Regions from separate parts of the Homo sapiens genome. Here region 1 is linked to region 2. Evidence: promoter capture Hi-C in 16 types of primary human blood cells and fetal thymus (Javierre and others, 2016). All regions are on one chromosome and are shown on one strand. Each heading gives the region's core, a stretch centred on a gene start or on the middle of the fragment in contact. The rest is flanking DNA. Distances are from core to core; before and after follow the strand shown.

Evidence for each region. Contacts are between HindIII fragments. The CHiCAGO score rates a contact against its expected background, and 5 or more counts as called.
Region 1: a contact is called between a fragment that was not itself captured here and the fragment with the promoter of KCNK5 in region 2, in 3 of 17 cell types (naive CD4 T cells, naive CD8 T cells and fetal thymus). The highest score is 6.5, in naive CD4 T cells.

The regions. Positions count from the first base shown.
Region 1 is chr6:38,863,619-38,870,450 of GRCh38, reverse strand. It overlaps DNAH8 (dynein axonemal heavy chain 8), which reads right to left. Exons shown (of 93, transcript NM_001206927.2): 45 at 6,391-6,578; 46 at 3,774-3,860; 47 at 3,575-3,682; 48 at 2,255-2,389; 49 at 1-50. Among named protein-coding and RNA genes, the nearest start is that of DNAH8-AS1, 86 kb to the left of the region's middle. The HindIII fragment of the contact is 6,485 bases long and covers 1-5,056 here.
Region 2 is chr6:39,227,514-39,234,577 of GRCh38, reverse strand. KCNK5 (potassium two pore domain channel subfamily K member 5) reads left to right here and starts at 5,103. Exons shown (of 5, transcript NM_003740.4): 1 at 5,103-5,652. The coding sequence starts at 5,467. RefSeq lists an enhancer at 3,798-4,525 and silencers at 4,813-5,162, 5,263-5,342, 6,356-6,425. The HindIII fragment of the contact is 7,595 bases long and covers 1-7,064 here.

The DNA of each region.
Region 1 (6,832 bases), core at 565-3,064, 360 kb after region 2:
GGGAACAGGTCATTGATTAAGCTGAGGAACAGGGGTTCATCTTCATCAACCTAAGGTGGCATAGTTTAAAATAAATTTACTCATTCAGTCAACAAACATTTATCAGCTAGCTGGGATGTGCATAGTACTTATCACTTCATCCCCAGAGAACCATTTATTACTCTCCTAATCAGGCTTGTATTCTCTAGTACTTTCTCCAGAATATCACTGATATGGTTTGGCTGTGTCCCTACCCAAATCTCATCTGGAATCGTAGCTCCCATAACTCCCACGTGTCGTGGGAGGGACCCAGTGAGAGGTAATTGTATCATGGGGGCAAGTCTTTCCCTGCTGTTCTTATGATAGTGAATAAGTCTCACAAGATCTGATGGTTTTGTAAACGGGAGTTCCCTTGCACATGCTCTCTTGCCTGCCGCCATGTAAAGACGTGACTTTGCTCCTCATTCACCTCCCAGCATGATTGTGAGGCCTCCCCAGCCATGTGGAACTGTGAGTTCATCAAACCTCTTTCCTTTATAAATTGTCTTTATTAACAGTGTGAGAACAGACTAATACAATCACCACTGAATCTATATTGTACCCAAAGTTCGTTAGCATTCAATGTGTTCTACAATCCTGCCCCAGTCTACTGCTCCAAAGTACGACCTCATTACTTTATCACATGAATCTTTGCTTCTCACAGTGGCATTTGCATTAACCTTAAAAATGATAATTTGTAGTCCCAACCCCATGAAATTAAAGAACGGATATTTTATTTAAATTGGGGAAATAGCCATAACCCTGCATGACTTCATCCAACAATGGCTGCAAAAGTCCATCAGGGCAGTGTTCTGAGCCTTTCTTATAAGCAGTAGGTTTGAGTACACTGACTCCAATCCTTGCTTGCAATGTCTTTAATGCATAGATTGCCCTGTTCCCAACATCTGACCCCTTATGATTTCTCTTTATTCTCTAGGGCTTTGCTGATGCTTTCTTGAGTACTTGTCTAGGAATTTCCAAAATACCATTATCTAAGGGAGGCTTAGACTGCACTCCAGCCTGGGTGACTTAGGGAGTCTAAGCCTCCATTACAGTCCATGTTGGTCATACAGGCAGTGAGGTATACTGGCAGGAGCAGTGGATTTGGCACCAGAAAATCTTATAAATTTTTGTCCCCTCTTCTCAGCTGATGGTGATTATGGGGGAATCCTGCAACCTCTAGTCTCCATTCCCCAATAAGTGAAGTGACAATAAACAAGCTAGCCATCCAGACCCCACAGAGTTGCTGTGAGGCTCAAATAAGACGATACACCTGAAAAGACTTTGTAACACTAATGAACTCCACAGATGTTAGTTTTTGTAACTAGAATGTAGCTTCCTGAACCACTTCTTCTTCAACTTTGTACACCCATGGCATGGGCACAATATGTGGCATGTAGAAATCCTTATATGTCACATGAACCTGTCCATCAGCTATTCAAAACAACCTGGCTGGGCTGGGCTGGGCTTGGTGGCTTATGCCTGTAATCCCAGCACTTTGGGAGGCTGAGGTGGGGTGGATCACTTGAGTCCAGGAGTTTGAGACCAGCCTGGGTGACATGGCAAAACCCTATCTCTACAAAACAGTACAAAAATTAGCCAGGCATGGTGGTGTGTGCCAGTAGTCCCAGCTACTCAGGAGGCTGGGGCAGGGAAATAGCTTGAGCCTGGAATGAGGAGGTTGCAGTGAGCCAAGATTGCACCACTGCACTCCAGCCTGGGTGACTGAGAGTCTGTTTCAAAGAAAAAAAAAAAAATCAGGCTGTAACCATGACAAGCATGAAAGCAGCATGCTCTCCACAGCAAATTTTCAATGTGTTTTTGGAAAATAGAAATGATGTTTATGTTTTGGGAGAGATATATCTGAGATAAGCTAGTCACATACAGAGAAAGCAAAAAGTTCTCATGGTTCCCTGTGAATCCAGATTCTTATGCTGAGAATTTGTGTCACTTTGTGAATAATGGTAGACAACTAGGTTGAGTCTTGGAGCTGAAGCCCACTGATGACCTGTTTCACTGCACACAGCTGATAAAAGGAGGCACTTATAGTCCATGTTGGTCACACAGGTCATGGGGTCTTTTGCTTTCTTCTGGAAGCACAGTGGTAGCTTTGCACACTTATTATCCCTGTAATTATGGGTGCTCACAGCTCAACATCAGCCTACCTCTACTTGTCCACCAAATAGAAAGAAACAATATTAAAATTGTGGAAAAGAAGAGAATTCAGAGAAGATACCAGTTTGGAAAGGTTCATATCTCTTAGTCCTCTCATGACAATGCTTAATTCACTATCTTCTGGTCTGGCTCTTTTTTGAGATCCAAGAGTCCTCAATACAGACAGAATATTTCTCAATCCAAAGTCATAATGAACCTGAGATGGGAGAAGAGGGCAAAAAGATGGTTTAATTGAAAAACTAAACATAGACTCACGGCTCACTCTATGCATATAGGTCGATTCTGATACTTATATGGGATAGTTTTGGGGTGACTAAGCCACAAAGGTTTATTAGCTCAACTTCCTGCCTTTCCTTTGACTGAAATATGATCATTCCATGGGAAAATCCAAGCTGCAAGATCAAGTAAGTATTCACACCTTAAATATCTTTTGAGAATAATATAGTCTGATACAGTCTGAGCAACAAACAATAGTTTCTTTTTTGTTTTTTTTTTTTTTTTTTTTGAGATGGAGTCTCACTCTGTCATCCAGGCTGAAGTGCAGTGGCGGGACCTCGGCTCACTGCAACCACCACCTCCCGGGTTCAAGCAATTCTCCTGCCTCAGCCTCCCCAGTAGCTGGGATTATAGGCGCGTGCCACCACGCCTGGCTAATTTTTTTTTTTTTTTGTATTTTTAGTAGAGACAGGGTTTCACCATGTTAGCCAGGATGGTCTCGATCTCCCGACCTCATGATCCACTCGCCTCGGCCTCCCAGAATGCTGGGATTACAGACGTGAGCCACGGCACCCGGCCCAAACAATAGATTTTTAAATGCATAACCAAGAGGTTACATACTATGTGATTCCGTTTACATAACATTCTTGCAATAAAATTCTAGACATGGAGAAAAGGTTAATGGGTTAGGGATTTGGGAGAGAGGTGGGTGTGGCTATAAAGTAGCATGAGGGAACCTTGTGGTGATGGAACAGAGCCGTATCTTACATATTCCATACAACTACACACACACACACACACACACACACATATACACACACCAGTGCATGTATAACTGATGAAACCTTAAACTCTGTGGACTGCTTCAGTGTCCATTTCCAGTTTTGTTATTGCGCTACAGTTACAAGATGTCAACCACCAGGCAAGGCAGGGTGAAGGGTACATGCCTCCCTGTACATTCCTTTGCAACTTCCTGTGAATCTACAATTATTTCAAAATAAAAGGGTCTTAAAAATACACAACCAATAGGTAAAATTAATTCTAAAAGCATTTTAGAAAAGAGTCAATGAGATTTTAACTCACTGATGAGTATTTATCAAGGGAAAATTACAAAGCAAAAAAACCAAATACTATTGCTAGGAGGAAAGCAGATCTATAAAGTTACCTGTTTAGTAAGTTGCTCTTCACAGAGTTTGTAAAGAACGTAAAATTTTTGAGCCAAGATAACATTTTCAAGAAAACCACAGCTTGCAAGTTTAACTCTCATAATGATCTGAAAATTAATATAGTGAGTTTTTTTCAACTTTAGTGAAAAACAAGTAAAGAACATAAAGCACATTATGCTTTTAAATCCTAGTGCATACCTGTCTATCAGGAACCATCATAGCAACAGTTCTAAACTGGATTTTTAGGTTTTCTGGTAGTTCCTGGCGCCCAGCATATCCAGGGTTCTAAAAGTTAAAATATGTTTAATTTTTAATTGCTAAAACAATTTTCATTTCTGAATACAAATATATTTCAAACCCCTAATTCAGATTTTAAGATGGTATTGAAAATATTAGATTCATAAAATACTCTTGTTTTCTCAAAACAATATGTATTAGACCATGTATATTAATATTTATATGCCCTTTTATATATTTCCATTTTCATGATATTAATAAAGTCACACACAATTTTGTGTGGCAAAATTGTCTACTGACTTAAAAAATAGAAAATTGTGTCTGCTGGCTTAAAAATAGAAAAGAACGTGAAATAATACAAGAGAAAACTGAATAGATACCTGATAATTATGGTCTAAAGTATGTTATTGAAAGAAGAAAAAAACTAAGGATTTTATACTGATGAGCTTCCTTGGGCATTTTTTTTATTCCATCTCTTCAATTATTCTTTGCAGCCACAGTTACAGAGCTCTTTGGCTAACAAAAACCCATGGAAGTGAGGAGAAATAAAGATGGCAGTGAGGGGAAATAAAGAAGGGAATGATGGGAAAAACACTGAAATGGACAAAAGTAGAGACAGACAGGAAATGAAGTCCTCCTAAGAAGCAACAGGTTGAACAGAGGTCAGACCCAAGTCTCAAAGGAAGGTTGGAGATTCAAAGACAAGTAAGGCCAACAGGAATGAGTTATTTTAGGCAAGTTTGTTAAAAACCTTCAGTCCCTGACCATTTACTGGGCACTGTCAATAGGCCAGGTACCTTGCTAGGGGCTGGAAATACAGAAATTGAGGCTGCCTCTCAATACTCCTCTTAACCTTCCTGAGCCACAGGAGCCCACCTGCAAGCTGGGTACAGCAACACCTAGATTAAAAACTACATTTCCCAGCCTGCCTTGCAGCTGCTGTGATTATATTCTACACTGCGAGATGCAAAGGGGCACACTGTACTAAATATCCTTGATGTTTTTTTGAAGAGAGTTGACTCAGTCAATTGGCTGCAACACAATAGAGATGCTTTCTGTAGCATCTTGGTTCATAAGGTGACCTTGAAGATGGAATTCATGATGGAGTAGAACCATAAAAGGATCTTAAGAGAATCCTTACATGTTAAACTACAATTTTTTTTAGGTTTCAGTTACTCACAGCTTAATGCAATATCTAATTGCTATTTCCAATATTATTCTTAATCCAGGGAGCATGTTAAGCTTTTTGTAAAATTCTAGACCACAGTTTTACACTGAGTACATTTCTTCATCCCACTTCCTGACTTATAATCAATACTTCAGATTATTCTTATTTCCCCCTAACTGCTTTACTGGATGTTTGCTTACAATAAAGTGTATCAGAAACATTTCTGATTTTGCTTCCTATAATTTATCATCTTTATCCATGGGGACATTTAAAAACTCAGAGTGCTTTGTGTTATCTTGCAACTTCGAGATTTAACTTTATGGAAAACACATAAAAGCTTTAAAACTGGTGATACATAAAAGCATAAAAACTCCCGTTTATTCATGCCTTTGGTTTCCTATCTTTACAACACTGAATCTCAAAGCTCACCCTTAATCACATGGTAACTGAATTTGTTACAATTCTTTCGTATAGGACCTTGTTAAATTATTGCAGAAATTTTATTTTTATTTCCTTTTATTCGGTGTCAAAGAAAAACCAAGTGTGGAGGTTAAGCAGTCAGATTTTTATGTTAGAGAGACAACAACTTCTTCTTTCTCTTACTGGCTGGGTGACCTAGGAAGTTTTTAAGTCTCGCTGAGCCTCAGGTAAGTCAGCTATATAATATCCACTTCAGAGGGCTATCATAGCTATAAGATACAGTGTACATGTGAGAGAATATTTCAGGTCCTTCCTGTTTCTAGTTACACGATAGGATGGCACGTTTTCCCCCACCCCACCACCCCCTGAAGTTAGGTCGTGAAACTTGCTTTAGCCAATGTCTTAGGACTTGTGTCACTTCTGGAAAGAAACTCTAAGAGTCAGAGCACAATTCTTCATGTTCTCTTTTTCCTTTGCTACAGCAAAGAGCAATGATTGAGATAGTAGGTACCTCGTCAGGCCGAGTACTAGAGTAAAGACATACAAAGCAGCCCTGGCCTCCTACTTCTACCCTAGTCAACCCACAGTGGACATGTGGCATGACAGAGAGATAAACCTTGTGGCTTTAAGCAATTAAGATTTAGGGATTGTTTGTTACTGCAGAACCACATGAGTTATGCCATCTGATATAGCACATAGAACATTTAGCCTGCACCTTACACATATTATACTATGTGGTCAATAAACAGTATCTATTATTATCCTTAGCATATTACCTCTGTAGGTCTGGATCTGAATTTTTTTTAATTGAAAAAAATTACTATTTTATCTTCTGTCTGGGTTATAATGACATAAAAAAAATCATATGGTAAGAGAGAACAGCTTATAACTCCTGGATAGTTGGTCATCTACCCATTAACACATGCTTTGTTTTATTTATGTCTGTAACAATTAAACTAATTAAATTGCATTTAAAGCCTTTTTTCTCACCATCGTTAAGAAGATTCCAAATTCTGGATTTAAATCAACACAATCACCATCAGAAAAAATGAACTGTTTCTTTCTTTCTTTTCTTGCTGTCAAAACAATATAAATTTGTTGTGCTGCCACTGATAATACAGGCAATTCAATTCTGTTAAACTCATCAAAACAGCCCCAGGAACCCGACTGTGCAAGACCTGGCATGAAAAACAGTTAATTTGTAAAGTTTTACTCTATAATATACCTTCTTGATAACAATCATTTCTCCAGTGCTCCCAAACCATTATACATTGAAACGGGATTATGTAAAGTTTCATATCTGGCTGTTGATAAATACATATTTAATTCCAGTGATAAAGAGAGGTTTAATTATTTGTATATTTTCATCAAAACAATGGAAACAGTACACTGCTAAGATGAAAGTACAAATTTTGGGGGTATTTTGAAAGTA
Region 2 (7,064 bases), core at 3,854-6,353:
GGCAAGTTTATAAAATAATTGATAATCTTTCATAATGTAAGTGATTTTATAAGGCATTTCATATCATCTGTCTTTTAAGCAATATGACAAGAACAAAAATAAAAATAGAACCTGTTGACCTTTTCAGTTGACAGCTACAGAGCTTTTTATTTATGGAAATAAGGTTTTCAAGTAATGATGATATTGAATCACTTTACGCTCTTAATGGCTTTTTATATAACTCCTTTGATCAGATCCGATTTGCAGAGGGTGACTATTTTCCTCTGAAATTCTTTTTTTTTTTTTTTTTTTTGAGACGAAGTCTCACTCTTTCGCCCAGGCCAGACTGCAGTGGCACTATCTCGGCTCACTGCAAGCTCCGCCTCCCGGGTTCCTGCCATTCTCCTGCCTCAGCCTCCCGAGTAGCTGGGACTACAGGCGCCCGCCACCACGCCCGGCTAATTTTTTGTATTTTTAGTAGAGACGGGGTTTCACCATGTTAGCCAGGATGGTCTCGATCTCCTGACCTCGTGATCCGCCCGCCTCGGCCTCCCAAGGTGCTGGGATTACAGGCGTGAGCCACCGCGCCCGGCCTAAAATTCTTAAACAGAATATAAAACAATGTAAACAAAAATGTTACAAAACAGAAATAAAAACAGCATTTGTGTTGGATTACCAAGTGTTCATTTTACCAAGAGGATAATCCCTTTACCTAATTGAAATAAGGAAGAAACAAAGGTGGGTGTGAACCTTTTATGGAGAGATCCTGGAAGCATGACCTTGGCCAAAACAACTGATGGCTCAGCCAATCTCTGGAGATGAGACCTGCAGAAGTTTCATTATTTGTTGCTGTCAAGGTGAAGCTCAACTCCATCCTGTGGATGAAGAGTCAAACTCTGTAGAGTATTTGAAGAGATTTATTCTGAGCCAAATATGAGTGACCATGGCCCATGACACAGCCCCAGGAGATCTTGAGAACATGTGTCCAGCGTTATCAGAGTACAGCTTGTTTTTATACATTTTAGGTTATAGGTGAATTCGAAGATTTTCTGATTGGTAGCTGGTTGAGTTTATCTAAAGACCTGAAATCCGTAGGAGGAAATGTCTGGGTTAAGATAAGGGGTTGTAAAGACAAGGTTCTTATTATGCAGGTGAAGCCTTCAGGTAGCAGGCTTCAGAGAGAATAGATTATAAATGTTCGTTATCCAACTTACAAAGGTGCCAGACGACCCCGGGAGCGCAGGGAGCGCTCCTGCAGGAGCATTTCAAAATAGGCCAAATGAATATATTTTGGGGTAAAATACTTCGATTTCTCTCAGGGCCTGCTGTCATGATTCTTATTGCTACAAAGAGTCTGTACTGTCAGTCTTAAGGTCTCTGTTTTTTGGGTTTTTGTTTTTTTTTTTTATTGAGATGGAGTCTCTATCATCCAGGCTGGAGTGCAATGGTGCCATCTCGGCTCACTGCAACCTCTGCCTCCCGGGTTCAAGCAATTCTAATGCCTCAGCCTGCTGAGTAGCTGCGATTACAGACATAAGCCACTACGCCCAGCTAATTTTTGTAGTTTTAGTAGAGACAGGGTTTCACCATGTTGGCCAGGTTGTGCCTTAAGGTCTCTGTTTTAATATTAATGCTGGTCAGCTGTGCCTGAATTCCAAAGGGAGGAAGTTATAAGGAGGCATGTCGGCTGGGCGCTTTGGATCACACCTGTAATCCCAGTGCTATGGGAGGCCAAGGTGGGCAGATCAGTTGATGTCAGGAGTTTGAGGCCAGCCTGGCCAGCATGGTGAAACCCCATCTCTATTAAATATACAAAAAATTAGCCGGGCGTGGTGGCTCATGCCTGTAGTCCCAGCTACTTGGGAGGCCGAGACATGAGAATTGCTTGAACCCAGGAGGCAGAGGTTGCAGTGGGTTGAGATTGTGCCACTGCACTCCAGCCTGGGTGACAGAGTGCGACGCCCTCTCAAAAAAAAAAAAAGGAGCCATGTCCAACCACCCATTCCATCATGGCCTGAACTAGTGTTTTGTGTTTACTTGAGAATGCCCTTGGTCAAGAGGAAGGGTCCATTTGCTTGCTTGGGAGGGGCCTAGAATTTTATTGTTGGTTTACATTCCTCAGAGCTGATTGCCTTCCAAAAGGTTGCACTCTGAAATTATTATCAACCCTGATCAATAATCATAATACTAAGAACTACACGTATGCTATTGGAATGGATTTATTTATCAGCCCTGTAGGAAAATATATATCTCACATCACCTCATTCCCATTTACCCACTTTTCCCTTTTCCAATCTTAAGGCTCGTGTTGTCTAAATATTCGATAGTTTCAGCACAGTTTACATTTTATAAAAGCCCCCACTGGCTGCTGTGCAGAGAGCAGGTGTGTGCCCCTGATCTACAGAAGGTCAAGTTGATCCAACTATCTGGCTGGGGCAGGGGAGTTGGAGAGGGGAGTGGGGAGATGGGGAGGGGAGGGGAAGTTGGGGGAGGGGAAGCACATTCAACTGGGATGGAGACAAAGGAGAGAGGCAGGAGGAGGGAGAATGAAGAGCTGGGGAAGGAGCTTTGGAAAAATACAGGAAAGCAAAGGATGCGGCGACAGAAGGAGAGGATGAGGAGTCAGTCAGCACCACATGGAGAGCAAGAAGGAAGAAGGGGACAGGAAATGCAGAAACAGAGTGGAAGGACAAAGAAACTACAACATACAGAGGCCTCGAATAAAAATCAATTCATCTCAAAGTGTTCAGCATTTTCATGAGGCTGTGAGACCGAAATAGGAAGAGGCCCTTTATTTTCTTAGGAAGAGAACACAGACCGGAGGTGGGAGAGGAATGGTAGGGAATTTTCCAAACAAAGAGAGGGCCTGTGGCCTCTCAAACTGCCCCCACCCCATGCTCACTGAAGCGTTCACACTGCAGCCCTGAACTCTTCACAAACAGGGTGAACTCCATCCAGAGAGGGGGGATCCGGAACCCATGCTTGGTTTCCATCCCAGCTGGAGGGCTGGAGAATGAGACTGCAGAGCTAGGGTTCAGGCCACAGCCTGGGGGACAGGGTAGGCAGGAGGTCAGCAAGGCTTAGAGAAGATGGATATGTTGGGTTGGGTGAGAGGCCTGGTGCTGGGAGTGGGTTGTCTACAGAGAAGCACCCCCAGGGCCTTGTCCAGGATGATCCTTGGCCAGGGGGGTCCTGAGGGGACTGGCACTGCACACCTCAGGGATGCAGTATCAGGAAATCTGGGGCTCCCCAGCTTCCTGCTCTGGTCTTCTTCTCTGGACACGCTCATGTTGCCATAAGGAGAGACAGAAACATCAGCAAAATCAGATCAATGCTTCCAACTGTATCCCTAACCCCTCCATTCCAGCCAGATTTGGAGATAGTACAGATACCCCCCTCCCCAAGTAAAGTGTCTCTTGACACCTTGGGGTTCAGGCCACAGCCTGGGTACAGGGTGGGTAGGAGGTGAGAAATGACTCCCCTTCTTCTCGATGGAAAGAAAAGGCCTTGGCCAGGGGACAGTGCTCAGGGACTCTGGCCACTCCAGTACCTGCCCCTACAGAGGCCAGAGAAGGGCAGGGCCAGCCCCTGGTACAGAGCACTGAAAGGAGGTTCCCCCTCCAACTTCTGACTGGTGCTGGTTGAAAGACTGAACAAACTAACCCACTGAGCTTTTTTCCTCACTGCAAAGTGGGTCGAATGACAGGGCCTGCTTATGATGCATGGAAGGGATTCAGTACTTCCTGGGGTTTACAAGAGCTCAGAGAATGGCAGCAAGGCGAGTTAGAAACATCCTGGGCACCTGTTTTTAACAAATTCATTCACTCCTTCATTGCACACATGGTTATTGAGTGTCTGCTATGTATGTAACAAGCACTGTGGATACATCATTACACAAGACAGATTCTCCATCTCCCCAGCAGACATTTCCGTGTGTGTGTGTGTGTGTGTGTGTGTGTGTGTGTGTCTGTGTGTGTGTGGCGGGGAGAGGGCACAATACAGAGTAAACAATAAATAAAGTTATATAATATAGCAGAGGGAATTTAGTACTAGGAAGGACATAAAGCCAACGAGGGAGATAAGGTGGCGGGGGTGGAATTTTAAATCAGCTGGAGCATATGTATGAAAGTGGGCCGGGCGCGGTGGCTCACGCCTGTAATCCCAGCACTTTGGGAGGCTGAGGCGGGCGGATCACCTGAGGTCAGGAATTGAGACCAGCCTGGCCAACACGGTGAAACCCCGTCTCTACTAAAAATACAAAAATTAGCTGGGCGTGATGGCGTGCGCCTGTAGTCCCAGCTTCTTGAGAGGCTGAGGCAGAAGAACTGCTTGAACTCGGGAGGCGGGGGTTGCAGTGAGCCGAGATAGTGCCACTGCACTCCAGCCTGGCGACAGAGTGAGACTCCGTCTGAAAGAAAAGAGGAAAGGAGAGGAAAGGAGAAGAGAAAAGAAAAGAGAAAAGAAAAAAAGAAAAGAGGCCAAGTGTTTCCCGTAGAGATACTGTGTATTGGGGGGGCGCACAGGGGTGCCACGAATTGAGCTGCCCACTCCTTCCAGATGCAGGGTTCTCACCCGGGTAGGTGAGAACGGGGTGAGGGGGAGGAATCACGCGTGGGTGGCTGGATTAGTTCCTGATGTCCTCTGATTCCCTACAGCTTCTTCAGCCCCGTTCTAACCCCCTTCCTCAGGCTTACAAGAAAGTGTGTGGAAGAGAGACACGGAGAGACTGAGCATTAGACTTTTTTGGAAGAAACATCAGTAAATGAAAATGGAATTACAATAAAAATAACAAAAGCAATAAACTCCTGACCTCAGTCACAATCATTTTAGTTAACACGCCAGTCCTAATAACAAACACGAGTCCCTGAGACCGCAACCCCTCGGGCACCGCAGGGCGTGCAGGTCTGGGCGGGCGGCGCAGCCTCCCCTGGCGGCTGACCCTGGGAGCGCGGGGAGCGCCAAGCCTCTTCTAGCGCTCACCTCGCGCTCACTCCTGCGCTCGCCGGGCTGCTTGTGCGGGGAAGGGGCGGGGCCCGCCTGGGCTCCTCCCCGGTCGGAGCCCGGAGCAAGGGGGCAGAGCGCGCCGGGCGCTGGTTAAAGAGGCGTGCGGAGGCGGGCGCGGCGCATACTGCTAGTGGCGCGCGGAGGAGCGACGCGTGGAGAAGCGGCCCACGTGTCTGCCCAGAGTCAAGTCCTGTGTTCTTCCCGCTCCTTACGCATCCGCGGTCCAGGGCGCCCTTTCAGCCCCGCTGGTGTTCGCCCACCCCGGGCCGCGTGAGTGGGGCCCCACGCAGCTCCCCGCACTCCGTGGGCCAACTTGGCCAAGCAACTCTGTCCGGGGAGCGGTGCTTGCGGGGGGTGAGTACCGGGCACTGCGCATGCGGAGCTCCAAATTCAAACAGCTGTTTTCAGAGGCTGGAGGGCGGGCGGACTGGTAGCAGCTGGGGCTAGGAGAGGCTTTCTCTAGGAGGCGGCCGCTCGGGAGCCATGGTGGACCGGGGCCCTCTGCTCACCTCGGCCATCATCTTCTACCTGGCCATCGGGGCGGCGATCTTCGAAGTGCTGGAGGAGCCACACTGGAAGGAGGCCAAGAAAAACTACTACACACAGAAGCTGCATCTGCTCAAGGAGTTCCCGTGCCTGGGTCAGGAGGGCCTGGACAAGATCCTAGAGGTCAGTCGCCGCCTGTACCCCCATATACATCTGAAGCTGGCTTGAGCTTTAGGGGGCGCTGAAAGGAAGACCCCTTCACAGCTTTGGGTGACCCTCAGTCCCTGTGGAAGGTCCAGGGGGTGATGAGAGAGCGTGTCTCATCATGGGTCAGGCTTCGAGGATCTGTCGCTCACCCGAGGGACACAGGGGTCCCCCAGGCGCGGAGACTCTTTGGAACTTAGTTTGGCCGGAGACAAATTGGAGTTGATTCCCGGGTGAACTAGGCTCCACGGTGTTTCAGTGTGGGTGTGACGGTACCTCCCTCCTTGGGAAGAGGCTGTGGGACGGATAAAGGCGTTTATCTTTCCCTGGAGACGCTCCCGGAGTCTGGGAGCCAAGCCTGGTGCCATCCCCTCGTGTCTCCACCTCCCCGCTCCAGGGCCAGTGCCACGCCTGCCAGGCTTTTCTTAAGGAACGTGAACCCGGCAGAGTGGCGGGAGGGTCCCTCAGCCCGAGCCTGGGCAAAATCTTCCGCCCCCAGCAGAGTTCCGGAGAGGAGCTGGAGGCTCTGTGGGGCCCGAACCCACGGGATGAGGGCTGGTGCCTGGAATGCTGGGGACGCGCTCAGGCTTCCGGGAAGGCTTATCTCGCGGAGACATCCTTCAAGGGCTTGGAGTAAAACTTTGTGAAAGTAGCAGGTTGCACAAACGAATAATACCCGCGTAGTCCCTTTATGATGGGGGAGGAGAGTGTGTGCGGAATTGGGGTGGGTGGGGGACTTCCCTCCGTGCTGACATTGGGAACCGCTTATTTTCTGGTGCACAGCCCGATGGGTGGCATTGACCTCACTTTGGATAAACGGGCTGCCTATCCTGGCTGAGACCTTGGGGCCCATTTGGGGACCGAGGCCCTCTACCCCAGTTTCTCGAGGGCTCAGCTTCAACCATCAACTCTTCTTGGCCTGCTCCCCCAGTGGAATGACCAGGACCTGGGTGAAAGTTCTAGATTGCAGCAGGTAGGGAGTAGGGGTAGATTGTCCAGGGTGTTACCTTGCTCTCAGGGTGAAAGATGCCAGAAAGGAGGTCTGATGAGAAGCAACGTTTAGTCTACAGCAGCACCTCAATACTTTATGCCTATCTAGTCGTCGCTCATTTTCCAGCCTCCGTTTCCCCATGTGAGAAACGGGAATGAGCCCATCCTCATTCCTTATTTCTGCCACGGACTGTTAGGTTGGAAGCATTTGGAAAACATCAAAATCTTGTCCCCAGATTGATGGACATCACACAGATAAGCATATACGTATTTGCTGGCAGCCGTGTGTGGGGAGACTTGTCCTCCAAGGGGTCCTGTAGAAGGGGAGGTTTAGTCTAGCAGGCTTAGTGTTGGATTTTAGTGGAGAGTCTCTTGCCCTGTAGCAGTTTCCCGGGTAGAGG